Linked DNA regions of Homo sapiens: regions 2 and 3 are each linked to region 1. Evidence: promoter capture Hi-C in 16 types of primary human blood cells and fetal thymus (Javierre and others, 2016). All regions are on one chromosome and are shown on one strand. Each heading gives the region's core, a stretch centred on a gene start or on the middle of the fragment in contact. The rest is flanking DNA. Distances are from core to core; before and after follow the strand shown.

What was found. Contacts are between HindIII fragments. The CHiCAGO score rates a contact against its expected background, and 5 or more counts as called.
Region 2: a fragment that was not itself captured here is called in contact with the fragment with the promoter of CAMK1D in region 1 in 1 of 17 cell types (endothelial precursors); the score reaches 5.5 in endothelial precursors.
Region 3: a contact is called between a fragment that was not itself captured here and the fragment with the promoter of CAMK1D in region 1, in 1 of 17 cell types (erythroblasts). The highest score is 6.7, in erythroblasts.

What each region holds. Positions count from the first base shown.
Region 1 is chr10:12,346,531-12,351,247 of GRCh38, reverse strand. CAMK1D (calcium/calmodulin dependent protein kinase ID) reads right to left here and starts at 1,701. Exons shown (of 11, transcript NM_153498.4): 1 at 1,338-1,701. The coding sequence starts at 1,429. RefSeq lists enhancers at 553-712, 887-1,386 and silencers at 1,423-1,512, 1,683-2,242, 2,283-2,542. The HindIII fragment of the contact is 10,581 bases long and covers 1-4,717 here.
Region 2 is chr10:13,046,149-13,050,458 of GRCh38, reverse strand. It overlaps a transcript of CCDC3 not described here. Among named protein-coding and RNA genes, the nearest start is that of CCDC3, 47 kb to the right of the region's middle. RefSeq lists an enhancer at 1-476. The HindIII fragment of the contact is 691 bases long and covers 2,303-2,993 here.
Region 3 is chr10:13,088,625-13,093,505 of GRCh38, reverse strand. It overlaps a transcript of CCDC3 not described here. Among named protein-coding and RNA genes, the nearest start is that of OPTN, 9.1 kb to the left of the region's middle. The HindIII fragment of the contact is 1,187 bases long and covers 1,802-2,988 here.

The DNA of each region.
Region 1 (4,717 bases), core at 452-2,951:
CCCTGAAAGGCAACAACCACAGCAGGGAGACCCCACTCTAGTCCTCAGCGTGCGCCTTCCCGGGAATCAGAAGCAGGACTGGGAAAGCCACCCTCACAACTTCTCTCCGGGGGACCCCCTGCAGATCTGCGTGGGGGTGAGGGGAAATGACTGAACAGCAGCAGACGCCGAGCCTGGAGGTGAAGACAAGCTGGGTAATGTGGTGCTGGAAAAAAGAAACCAAGCACAAAAACAAGCACACGGAAAAAAAGGAGGAAGGAAAGAAAGGGCACCCAACAACGCACTGATTTATCCCATGAAATAGCTCCCCTTTCTCTTCCCAGCCTAATCAACACCTCCATGAACCCCTGCAAAATGGGCATTTCTGACTGCACACCTGTGCGTGAATCCACACTGACAGATACTGATGCAGAGCAAATACTGATTGTGTGAGGGAAGGAAATAACTTGAACTTCAGACTCATTCGGCAGGTCCTGATTCTCTTTCACTATCAGCCTCCCCACCTATTCTGAGCCGCTCCGAAACAAAACAAACAAGACCCAACTCCTGGGCAGAAAGGGAACAGCAGCTGAGCTGAGCAGCACATGCTTGGAGCGTTCCTGCCATCGACTTCGGATTATTTCTGCTTTCTTGAGACACAGCCATCAGCATGGGACTCGATGCAGCCCGGAGAGAGCACCGCCCGCGCAGCGACGCGCACAGACCCTCCCTTGGAGACGCGCTCCCCGGCGCGTGCGGCCGAGCCCGCGTGAAATGCACAGACCCTCCGGTGAGGCTCTGCCCACGTGTGACCCTGAGCACTGCGAAGCCCTTCCCTTCCATCCTCGCGTGGCCACCCAAAGTCTTGCCTACACCTCGTACGTGCAGATGCCAATTCCATAGAAATACATGATGTAAGGACAGAAATGGGAACGACTGGAGGCTGATCTTCTCGTGACCACGTCTCGCCAACGCGGTGCGCCCATGCACACGGCGAGTAAACGCACACAGCCGGTAAACAGCCATCCCCACCATGCTCAGCCCACAGTCACGCGTGGGGAGAAGGCAGCGGAGAGGGCGGCGGTGGCAGGAGAAGTGGGAAGTCGCGCGCCCGCGTGGGCTGCTCCCTGACAGCCCGGCGCTGCCCCCTCCCCCTCCCGGGAACGGCGCCCACCCGGGGGTCGCAGGCCCACGCGTCGGGCGCGCTCGGGGGGGCTCCGCAGCGCCGAGAACGGGACAATGAGGACGCGGTGACAGGCTGGGTTTCTGCCGCGGTAGTGGCGGCGGCGGCAGCTGGAGCTGCCCGTGCAGCCCCTGCCGCGGCCACCTCCACCCTCGCCTCCCCGGTCCCCACTTACGTTCCGAGGGTCTCTTTGAACTCGAAGATCTTCTTGATGTCTTCAGCTTGCTTTTTCCAGGAGGAGCTGCTCTCGCCGTTCTCCCGGGCCATGGCCGACGAGCGCGGCGCGGAGGAGCGGCCGGGGGCGCGCTGGGGAGGGGGCGCCGGGGGCGCGGCGCGGGCGCAGAGGCGGCGGGGATGCCGGGCGGCTCGGGCTGCGGCGCAGCTTCCTCCTCTGCAGTTTCCTCTTTCGCTCTCGCCGCCGCCGCCGCGGCCGCGGTCCCTCCCTGGCTCTTATTTCTGCTGTTCTCGGGCACAGACTTCCTGCCGCCGCCGCGCGCCGGCTCCTTTGCCGCCGCCTGCCAGCCTCACTTTCTGCTACTTTCTTGCCTCCCTCCCGCTCCCTCCCTGCCGCCCGCCGCGCTCCCCCCCACCTCGCGCCTCCTCCCCCTCCTCCCCCTCCTCCCCCTCCCGCGGGCTCCCCGCCCTCTCCGTGCGCCCCGGCCGCTCCCCGCCTCCAGCGCGCCGCCTTCGGGGATGTCCCGCTCCCCTCCCAAGAGCGCCGGGCCACGGCCGTCGTGCCCCCTGGAGCCCCGGCGAGGGCGGGTACGGGCCCCCGGCAGGTGCGGGGCGCACGCGGGAGAGCCCCAGCCCCTCCGGGAGCTGGAAACGGAGCCCAGTCTGGGGGCGCCGGGGCTTTCCCGTCTCCGGCGGGAGGGGGCGCCTCTGCGTGGCTCGGAAGCGCCGGGCGGGCGGGGGTGCGCGGCGGCCGGATGCGGGGCGCCGAGGGCGGGGCGCCTTCCCGCGCTGTGGCCTGTGGCCCGGGGGACCCGAGGGGCAAGGCGTGGGGTGGGGGGGGTGGGGGCCGGTTGTTATGGCGACGGGCGGCGGCGGCGGCTGGGATGGAGGCGGAGGCGGGCGGGAGCTCATTCGCATTGCACCAAATCGGTTTCACGTCAGTTTCGGGACAGACCCGCGAGGAGCAAGCCGGGGAGCCTCTGGGCGGGTACGCGCAGGACGCGCCAGCAGCTGCCTCGTGGTCCCTTTGCGAGCAAAACTCCCGGGGGTGTTTGGCAGCCGCGCGGGCGCCCTGGTGCTGGGCTGGAGCGGCCGGCGGGCCTGGCCGGCCTGGTTGCCCTGGCTCACGCTTGGCCCCTTCTGGCATCTCCCTGTCTCCTCCCAGAGACTCAGTGGAAAGAAGTGATCGTCTGCCCCGCAGTCCCCTCGAAGGAGGAGCCCACCCGCGGCTGGCTTAGTAGGGTGTCCGGGTTGCGGGGCAGGCACCTGCTTTCCTATGGACTGCCAAAACTAACCCAGAGAATTCCCTCCGGACTCCCATCTCCCAGCTGTACTTTGGCCTGCCCGCCCCACTCCTGGTGTCCACCTGTCAGAGGGCAGCCCACGTGCTCCAGTTCCCTGGTCCCCAACCTGCAGGGGCGACCTCTTGATCGGAAAATTTTAGATTTCTTGGTATCAACACTTCGCCTCCCTCAGGGCCTCTCCTCGTAGTTGGGTAAACAGCTCTGTCTCTTGACTGGGGACACCTGTCCCATTTTCCCAGGACTGTTCCAATTTCACTGTAAAAGGAAAAAAAAAATCTGCTCCCTGAATAGGAAACTTCATCCAGCACCTTGTGCCTAGTTCTGACTCTGGCTGAAGTGGAGGCAGCCCAGCTGCTCTCCCTCAGCCCCTACTCTGACCCTAAAGAGGTCAGACGACACCCTGGCATCCCCATTCCTGGGACCTCCATGCTAGTTTCCATCTTTCAAAGACGGTTAGCTTAAGGTTTTCCAAACTGAGAAGAGCAAAGAGGGGATTTACTTGCCGGTTAGATGTAGAATAAATCCACAAACCCAATTTCCAACACGGATGGGTGAGAAGAATTACTAAGGAACCTCTCTTATACTTGAGGCACATTACCAAAGTTCAAGGCAAACAGCATCCCCTTCAATAAGAAACATTTGAAAAACTATCATGTATTTTACTTGTGCCAAAGGTTAGATAATACAAACAGTGGGAACCAGGGCATAAGTCAACTAAGATCCCAACTGTCGCTTTCTCATGCCTACAGTCAGCATCTTCTTGTCCTTTCTTTCTCCTTCCCTTCCTCCCACTGTGTTTCCTTCTCCTCTTTTCCTATTTGGTTCTCTGCTATGTTGCCCTTGCTGCCTGGCCTCAGGAACAGCCGCCAGAGCTCATGAAAACAATTCTCATTCTCAGCTATTATCCCCACAGCTGAAGAAGTGCTGATTCTCTACTACCCGGCCATAAAAAAGAATGAAATCATGTCTTTTGCAGCAACGCAGTTGGAACTGAAGGCCATTATCTTAGGTGAAATAACTCAGAAACAGAAAGTCAAATACCACATGTTCTCACTTAGAAGTGAGAGCTAAGGCTAGGCATGGTGGCTCACGCCTGTAATCCCAGCACTTTGGGAGGCCTAGGCCAGTGGATCACCTGAGGTCAGGAGTTCAAGACCAGCCTGGCCAACATGGTGAAACTCTATTAAAAATAAAAATTAGCCAGGCATGGTGGCACATGCCTGTAATCCCAGCTACTCAGGAGGCTGAGGCAGGAGAATCACTGTAACCTAGGAGGTTGCAGTGAGCGAAGATTGCACCATTGCACTCCAGCCTGGCGACAGAGCAAGACTCCATCTCAAAAAAAAAAAAAGGAGAAGAAGTGGGAGCTAAATAATGTGTATATGTGGACAGAGAGTGTGGAATAATGACATTGGAGTGGGGTAGGGGAAGGGATGAGAAATTAACTAATGGGCATGGTGTACCCTATTCTGGTGATGGTTAAGCTAAAAGCCCAGACCTCACCACTACGCAATATATCCATGTAACAAAACTGCACTTGTACCCCTAAATCTATAAAAATAACCATTAGAAAAAAAGAAAGAAGGCAATTTTACAGGAACAGTAAAGATGAAGGGAAAGCAAATGAGAACTTCCACGTGGCCTGTGGCCGTGACTTTTCCTACCAGGCTATAAGCTCCATGAGAGCAAGGCACCTGTTAACTTTCTCGCCACTGTTTCCCAGCACCTGACACGGTAACCTACCCATACTGACTGATCTGTAAATGTGTGTCGAATGGATAAAGAAATGAAATTGAGGCCAGGCGTGGCAGCTCACGCCTGTAAAATGCCAGCACTTTAAGAGGCAGAGGCAGGCGGATCACCTAAGATCAGGAGTATGAGACCAGCCCGGCCAACATGGTGAAACCCTGTCTCTGCTAAAACTACAAAAATTAGCCGGGCGTGGTGGTGTGCGCCTGTATCCCAGCTACTCAGGAGGCTGAGGCAGGAGAATCACTTGAACCCAGGAGGCAGAGGTTGCAGTGAGCCGAGATCATGCCACTGCACTCCAGCCTGGTCAACAGAGTGATATTCTGTT
Region 2 (4,310 bases), core at 1,399-3,898, 700 kb before region 1:
AAGAATAAATAATCCAGTGATGACTATTACCAGTTTTCTCTAAGCCTAGGCCCAGCCCTGGCCCATGGCCTCAGCCCTTGGATTGATATGGCTTATTTAGGTATTTAAAGGTCGACACCTGCCTCCTGCTGTTTAATTCCCTGCAGTCTGACAGATTCACCAATTACCAAGGAGAAAGCCTGCCTTCCTTGTGCTGTGTGTAAATGAGGCTTCCATCAGCACAGACACACACACAGGCTGCAAATGGACCAGCCCTGCCCCCAATTCCACACCCACGGCCACAGCAAAGAATGCTGTGTTCCCCTTCCCCAGCCCTCACACCCAGGTTAATACCTGGGCTCACAGCCTCAGCCCCACACCCAGGTTAATACCTGGGCTAATTTCATTTTTTCACTTTTTGGGTTTTCAGATGTACACCCCAGCGGAATCAAAATGACAGATTTATGTCACATTGTGGGTTTGGATCAGAAAGCACCCTTGAGCAACACTTTGATTCTGTGTTTCTTCCCGTCCTCAGCTACTTCTTGGAAGAGCAGTGGAGAGAAAAATATTGTTTCTTTTTCTTGGGAAATTGGCAGAGGCATGCTGAAGAAATCAGCTACAGCTGTTCTCCACACCTGGATAAATTTTTAATAAGAACTTAACACACCCGCCCTCCAGAAAGGGTGGTCTGAGGTGTCGATGGTGTTGTCTCTCCCAGGGCTCTTCTGGGCAGCCTTCTCTGTGACCTGGAGAGCGAAGAGTCTATTTCCATCACATTTCAGCTGCCAAACTCCCCTTTAAACGTAAGTAAGCCATTTGATTTCTGCTGCCTTTGTTTTCCCATAAAAGGGCGTTTAAAAAAATATAATTCTCCAAGAAATCTCTAGTTGTTTTGAAATAAAAAGTTACTTTTCGCTCTTCATCTCATTTATTCCAGCTATTCTCTGCTTTGCCCTCCTTGGTTTGTGGAGCCTCATACAAATTCATTAGTACTTTTCCAGCGTCACAGGTTGGAACTGAGGGTTCCAAAGAGCAAAATGCATTTTGGCTGAAGCAGAGCCAGGAATCCATGTTGTTTGCCATTGGCGCCATCCAATTCACTTGTTCTGAATAAGGGAATAAAGTTAATATTTATTCCCTTCATGATTCTTGTATTTCAAGAAAAAAAAGTGCTCTACAGGCTTTTTCCCCCCAGCAGGTACTGATTGATTTGTTTGAATTTTGAGCTGCAATCAAGGATGGAGAATCTAACTGATCTCCTTATTCACCAAATATTTATGATTTGTGCATAGAATATTGACTAATCTCTAATGTGCAGTCTTCTTGATGAAAAGGGAAGGGATAGCTGGGGCTCGTTATTGTGTCTCTTCAGTGGATTAGAGAGATTAGATGCCTAAGATGTCCCAAAGCCTGTATCGAGTCAGGTGATCTGATCCTCATTCCCATGAACAACTTAGGAGGCCTCCCTCTCCAGTTGTGACACTTGGAATTTGTATGCTCATCTTCATCATGACTATGTAGCCAACTCTTGGTGTTGTGCAATGAAAAATGGAAAATATAAGCCAGATGATTAAAAAAAAGACCACGTGGCTCTAGGTATGATGAAAGACAGGCATATGTTTTCAGACACAATCTCCCTCTCTCTTACACACACTCCTTACTCTTAAATATTTGGATTTTTTACTTTACATCTAATTTTAATCCCTTCTCAGCTGGCACCATACTATTGATGACCAGGGGACCCACAGGGACAGCTAGCGACCTGCCAAGTTGACTCATCTGCTTGTGGAGGTAACACTTAGGAAACACCTTCAAGTTCCTGTCTGCAGTGGGTGTTGCCCAAAGTGAATATCATAGAAACCTCCCAATTATATGAGAGTCTCCATCTAAAAGTGAATGGCATCAATAGGAAAGTAGCATTTTCTGAATAGGTAACAGAATCCGTAAAGTGCAAGTGTAAAAGGAGAATAAAAACTTGGGACCCTGGCCAGGTGCAGTGGCTCACACCTGTAATCCCAGCACTTTGGGAGGCCGAGGTGGGCAGATCACAAGGTCAGGAAATCAAGACTGTCCTGGCCAACATGGTGAAACCCCGTCTCTAGTAAAAATACAAAAAAATTAGCCAGGTGTGGTGGTGCGCACCTGTAGTCCCTGCTACTAGGGAGGCTGAGGCAGGAGAATTGCTTGAACCTGGGAGGCAGAGGCTGCAGTGAGCTGAGATCGCGCCACTGCACTCCAGTCTGGCAACAGAGCGAGACTCCGTCTAAAAAAAAATAATTGGGACCTCAATTCACTCTGCCAAAAGAAAAAAAATTAAGCTTAAAGCAGAGTCATGCAAGAAGCTACCTTTTCTTTTGTTCCTAAGATAGCTATGGATAAAATACAAAACATCCCCGCAGATAGTTACTCAATTCACCTTACATTGCGCGTGAGGTGCATACATAATTGACTATTCCCCTACTTGCTCCTTTTCTCTTGCAACGTGTGGATTCAGTCATGTGACCATATCCTTCCTCCTTTCCCTCCAGCCTGCTTTCCCCCTTTAAGCCCTCAAAATCGTCTTTGGAGAAAGGCAGAGACCACAGACTGTTTCTGGGACTCCATGTTTATTTCTTCCGGCGCGTCCCTAACCTTGGCAAAATAAACTTCTAAGTTGATTGAGACCTGTCTCAGATGCTTTTTGGTTCACACAAGAAAACAAACCGATCTCAGGCCTTAGTCCCTCTGGAGAGCTTTAGAGAGGCCCATGGCTAACAGGAATCACCCAGGTCTCATAGGGAGGGCACGGATGGAGATCCAGCTTGCAGTTGCCAGGACCACACTGGGCTCCGGAGCAGATTACTGAAGTCTCTTTATATGTACCCAGGCATTCTGTGTGAAAGAAGGAGGCGGGAGGGGAGAGCCAGGTTAGTTTGGGAAATTTTGCATTACACAAAATTAAGCAGGTTTCTTTAGTCTTTGCTATGCAGATTTTATTGTGAATCTGTAAGAGGCAGAAAGAATAGAAAGCTTTCCCCAAACTTTTTGTCCTGAGAATCCCTTTTTCCTGGGGATCCCTAACATTTCAAAGGGCACTGTGATCCACAAAGCCCAGGCTGGAGAGAGCCACCCGGAGATGTCAAGGAAGCTCCAGCTGCCGGTCTGTCACCAGCTCCATGGAGACTCACCTACCAGTTTAATGGGGACTTTTCAAACCCATGGGCTTCAAATTTGGGTATGCCCATCTTCAGGGTCACAAGAGGACTTTCTAAGGCTACACAGGTACATGGTTTTTGTTCTTTTTAAATTCTGGGTCCACAATTTCCATGCGTTCTTTCCTATAATTGTTCTGGTGAGAACTGAATGGCGATGAGCCATTGCCGCTAAATGGAGTCTCTCTGTTCTGTCTCCTCTTTCGTAACAGCTGCTTCATAAATGCAAAACATCCCTCACCCTCTCTCATCTTACTAGGGTGCATTGCCCCAGGGTGAACAGATATCTGGGTTGCCAGACAAATTGCTGGATTGGCTTCTTCTTTTTTTTTTTTTTTAGAAAGTGAATGATTCTATTGACTAAGTAATAAATCTTTTTGCAGATCAGATGATTTCTAATTCTTTGCTTTCATGAAATTTGAGAGGAGACCTAATTGAGTTGTCAGAGAATTAGATCATTAAATATTTTCGATGATAGATCACTGTATCTGAAGGAGCTTGAGTAATAATTGATACTGCTTGATAAAATTGCTTCCATTCTTGTCTACTTCTTCTTCTTCTTCTTTTTTTTTTTTTTTGAGACGGAGTTTCGCTCTTGTTGCCCAGGCGGGAGTGCAATGGCCCGGTCTCAGCTTACTGCAACCTCCGCCTCCCAGGTTCAAGCAATTCTCCTGCCTCAGCCTCCTGAGTAGCTGGGATTACAGGCATGCCCCACCACACCTGGCTAATTTTTTTTTGTATTTTTAGTAGAGATGGGGTTTCACCACATTGGCCAGGCTGGTCTTGAACTCCTGACATCAGGTGATCCACCTCGGCCTCCCAAAGTGCTGGGATTACAGGCATGAGCCACCGCACCTGGCCTTTTTTTTTTTCTTTTTTTGAGACAGGGTCTTGCTCTGTTGCCCAGGCTGGAATGAAGTGACGCGATCACGGCTCACTGCAGCCTCATACTCCTGGGCTCAAGGGATGCTCCCAACTCAGCCTCCCTAGCAACTGGGACTACAGGTGTGAGTCATCATGCCCAGCTAATGTTTTTATTTGTTGTAGAGATGAGGTCTCACTATGTTGCCCAAGCTGGTCTCTAACTCCTGGGCTGAAGCAATCCTCCTGCCTTGGCCTCCCAAGGTGCTGGGATTA
Region 3 (4,881 bases), core at 1,146-3,645, 740 kb before region 1:
TCCTTCTGTAGAGGTTGACTTAATACTTGGCTGGTGATATGGTTTGGCTGTGTCCCCACCCAAATCTCATCTTGAATTGTAGCTTCCATAATTCCCGTGTGTTGTGGGAGGGACCTGGTGGGAGATAATTGAATCATGGGGGTGTTTTCCTCCATACTGTTCTCATGGTAGTGAATAAGTCTCACGAGATGTGATGGTTTTATAAGGGGAAACCCCTTTCACTTGGTTCTCATTCTCTCTCTTGCCTGCCGCCATGTAAGATGTGCTTTTCGCCTTCCGCTATGATTGTGAGGCCTCCCCAGCCACGTGGAACTGTGAGTCCATTAAACCTCTTTTTCTTTATAAATCACCCAGTATCAGGTATATCTTTATCAGCAGCATGAAAACAGACTAATACAGCTGGTTAAATTGTCATAAATGATTTTGCGGTTTGAAAAGTCAGTAACTCCTTTGTTTTTGAAAAAAAAAAAAAAAAAAAAGGTGAGGGGTTCATACATGACTTTCCACTAGATCACAATACACCTGCCTTAGCTAGATTGTCTGTGCCTTTTATACCCACGAAAAGTCAACATTTCTCTCACCAGGTTGCCTTGACCCTTTTCGGCTTTGCGGGCAGAGTTCCTGCTCCCCTGTTATAGGCCAGGAGACAGTCATTAAATTTGTAGGCACATTGCATTGTCTTCTGGAGCAGTAACACAGATTTCTGGGCGGCTGGTCTCATCAGATCTGCACAGCTGGATGCCAGCAACATTTTGCTTCTTTCTTTCCTAAGGCCTATGGTTCACTTCTCCAGCTGCTATATCTTTAAATTTTGCAACTGGTCACCCCTGTGTTATTCCTGACCTCATCCATTCCTTTTTCTGAATCTACTGGGAGCCAGGGGAGAAGATGCCTTAGGTCACACGGGGGTTACTCCAATGTGAGTTAGCTTTACAGAAAGCAATTCTTACCAAGTTAATTTGATCTGACCCAAGGGAGGCAGAAAGAAATCCCAGTCATAACAGACTTCTTGCAGAGACAATTGGATATTCATGGACTATTATGGCAAAGGTGGCCAAGTTTTGAAGGGTTGGCTGTGAAAACTCCTAGAGGAAGATCTGTTAGTGAACTTGGAAGCACTTAGGCAGTATTTCCCATTGCAACGATTTCAGAGACTTCAAAAGCTGATCTTACATAAATTTAGAACTTTCCCATTCACTGTGTCTTATTATAATTCTGGGAAGTGGCTCCATTCTGTTTATTATAGAAACAAGAGAAGAGTCTCTGTGAATCTTTTTATAAAATGATTTCCTGTCTACCTTGGTTCCCATACTCACGAATTGTTTAATTCACCTTCAGCACAAAAGTATATTTTAGTTGATTCTGGCTTGGTTGGCTCAAGCGAACTTTCTTTGTATGTTCACAGTGTGCCCGCCTCCACCACCTTTGCTGCAGCTATCTGCACCCTGCACTCTTTCTTCTTTGCTCTTATCTGCCACCCTCCCCTCTCCTCCCACCATCAGCCCTTTTCACTGCAAGGCTGTATGACACAACATTGACACTTTGGTGTCCTTTCAATTTCAGGTGGCATCTTTCCAGAGCCTCTGGCATTTAGGATTATTTCTAATTCTGCAATAAAAACCTTGTCTGCCAAAGGGATTTCAGGATCTGCCAGCAAGGAGGAATTTTTTTTTTTTTTTTTTTTTGGATTGGGCTTTTCTCAGTAAGCTTGAAATCAGACACTTAGGGAACTTCCATCTTGGCTACAAAAAAAGGTTATGTATTTGACTCTGTTATTTAAAAGGGGTTATGCTTGGAAGCTTTTATGCAGATGGAGGGGAGAGAACTTTAGGATGATGAGATGTACCTGAGGAGATGAAGGGAGTTGTTGAAGGCGAACATTTCTGCGTTGGGCGACTGAATGGAGGGTAGCAGTATTAGCTGAGATGGTGTTTTTGTCCATCCTGGCTGTTATAACAAAATACCATAAACAGAGTGGCTTATAAATAGAAATTGATTTCTCACAGTTCTGGAGGCTGGGAAGTCCAAGATCAAGGCACTGGCAGTGTCTGGTGAGGGCCTGCCTCCTGGTTCATAGACATCATCTTGCAGTGTCCTCATGTGGTGGAAGGGTTGATGCAGCTCTCTGGGGTCTCTTTCATGAGGGCACTAATCTCATTTGTGAGGGCTCTCCTCTCATGACCTAATCACCCCCCAAAAGGCTTCACCTCCTGTGATGGCTAATATTGAGTGTCAACTTGATCAGATTGAAGGATGCAAAATATTGTTTCTGGGTATGTCTGTGAGTGGGTTGCCAGAGGATATTAAGATTTGCTTCAGTGGACTGGGAGAGGCAGGCCCACCCTCAATCTGGGTGGGCACCATCCAGTTGGTTGCCAGTGAGGCTAGAAAAAGCAGGCAGAAGAAGGTGGAAGGGCAGACTTGCTGAGTCTTCCAGACTTCATCTTTCTCCTGTGCTGGATGCTTCCTGCCCTTGAACATCAGACTCCAAGTTCTTCGGCCCTTGGACTCTAGGACTTACTGCAGTGGTTTGCTGGGGGCTCTCAGGCTTTTGGCCACAGACTGAAGGCTGCACTGTCAGCTTCCCTACTTTTGAGGCTTTGGGACTTGGACTGAGCCACTACTGGCTTCCTTGCTCCTCAGCTTCCAGACAGCCTGTCATGGGACTTCACCCTGTGATCGTGTGAGTCAATTCTCCTTAATAAACTCCCTTCAATATATGCATCTGTCCTTTTACTTCTGTCCCTCTAGAGAACCCTGACTAATAACACCTCCTAATACCCTCACCTGCCGGTGAGGATTTCAATCTATGGATTTTGGGAGGACACAAACATTTAGACCCTAGCAGATGAGAAACCCAGGACAGGCAGCTGCCCTGGGGGAAGGAGATTAGTTCTGAGTAACTTGCATTACTTGTGGGATAGGTGAATGAAGAGGTCCACACCTATTTGGAAAAATGGGCCTGAACCTCAGGATAGAGATTAAGCTTGGAAATATGGACTTAGTCCTTCTCAGAGACCTCCTCTAAAAGGGCTGAATTCTAGCACAATTTGCAATTGCAAAAATGTGGAACCAACCCAAATGCCCATCAATCAATGAGTGGATAAAGAAATGGTATGGCCAGGTGCGGTGGCTCAAACCTGTAATCCTAGCACTTTGGGAGGCCAAGGCAGGTGGATAACGAGGTCAGGAGATCAAGACAATCTGGCCAACATGGTGAAACCTTGTCTCTCCTAAAATACAAAATAAATTAGCTAGGCATGGTGGCACGCACCTGTAGTCCCAGCTACTTGGGAGGCTGAGGCAGGGGACTCGCTTGAACCTAGGTGGTGGAGATTGCAGTGAGCTGAGATCACACCACCGCACTCCAGCCTGGTGACAGAATGAGACTCTGACACAAAAAAAAAAAAAAAAGAAAGAAACGGTGATATATATATATATATATATATATATATATATATATATATATATCTAACGGAATACTACTCAGCCATAAAAAGGAATGAATTAATGGTATTTGCAGCAACCTGGATGAGATTGGAGGCTATTATTCTAAGTGAAGTAACTCAGGCATGGAAAACCAAACATCGTATGTTCTCACTCACAGCAGTGAGGATGCAATGGCGTAAGAATGACACAATGGACTTTGGGAACTCACGGAGAAAGGGTGGGAGGGGGGTGGGGGATAAAAGGCTACAAATTGGGTGCAGTGTCCACTGCTCGGGTGATGGGAGCACCAAAATCTCACAAACCACCAGTAAAAAACTTATCCCTGTAACCAAACACCACCTGCTCCCCAATAACCTTTGGAAATAAAAAAATTAAAATTTAAATTTAAAAAAATGGCTGAATTCTAGAGAATTCCTCCAATTTAAGGGGGGGTGCTGAAAGAAAATAAAAAGTTGGAGAGGAGAGAAGAGGGAGCATCCAGATAAGAGAAAGCGAAACTAGGAGAGAGCAATGTCCCCGAAGTCAAGTGAGGAAAAGTATCAGGAAGGAGAGGGCATTGAAGGTGTCCGGGGCCAGAGTACCCCGAGGAATGGGGACAGAAAAGCAAGTTTGAGAATTGAAGACTCTAATCAAGTGATGGGACAATAGTCCCAGCAACTTCAAAGAATATAACAATAGTACTAAGTTGTTTACTTGCATTCTTTATATGATTCATATAAAGAATTCATAATAAGTGTTAAACATAAAGAAATGTTCACTTACAAATATTCATAAATAAGTGTTCACTTACAAATATTCATAAGTGTTCATTTATAAATATTCATAAATAAGTGTTAAACAAATAAAGTTACTACTTTAAGACGACTCTTTCTAAAGAGTTAGCCACTATCTGTAAGCTCTAAGATGTATTTTATATGGTCCGCTGTGTAGTTTTTGGATCTGAATCAGAACCTGGAGAATTTGAGGAGGGAATTTGTCGTAGACCTGTTCTACATATATCTCAATATCCAGTTAATATTTCTTTCTTCTTTTATTTTTTTTTTTTTTTGAGACAGTCTCACTCTGTCACCCAGGCTGGAGTGCAGTGGCACGATCTTAGCTCACTACAACCTTTGCCTCTAGGGTTCAAATGATTCTCCTGCCTCACCCTCCTGAGTAGCTACAGGTGCCCGCCACCATACCTGACTAATTTTGGTATTTTTAGTAGGTTTCACTATATTGGCCAGGCTGGTCTCGAACTCCTGACCTCAGGTGATCCTCCTGCCTTGGCCTCCCGAAGTGCTGGGATTACAGGCGTGAGCCACTGCGCCCAGCTAATATTCAGTTAATTTTTTAAAAATGCTTTCCTCCTTTCCGTCTTGTCTCCTTAATGCTGCTTAACGCCTCATTTGCTTCTTTTGCCTGTGCTTTTGGAGACAGGGCAGGCAGGTG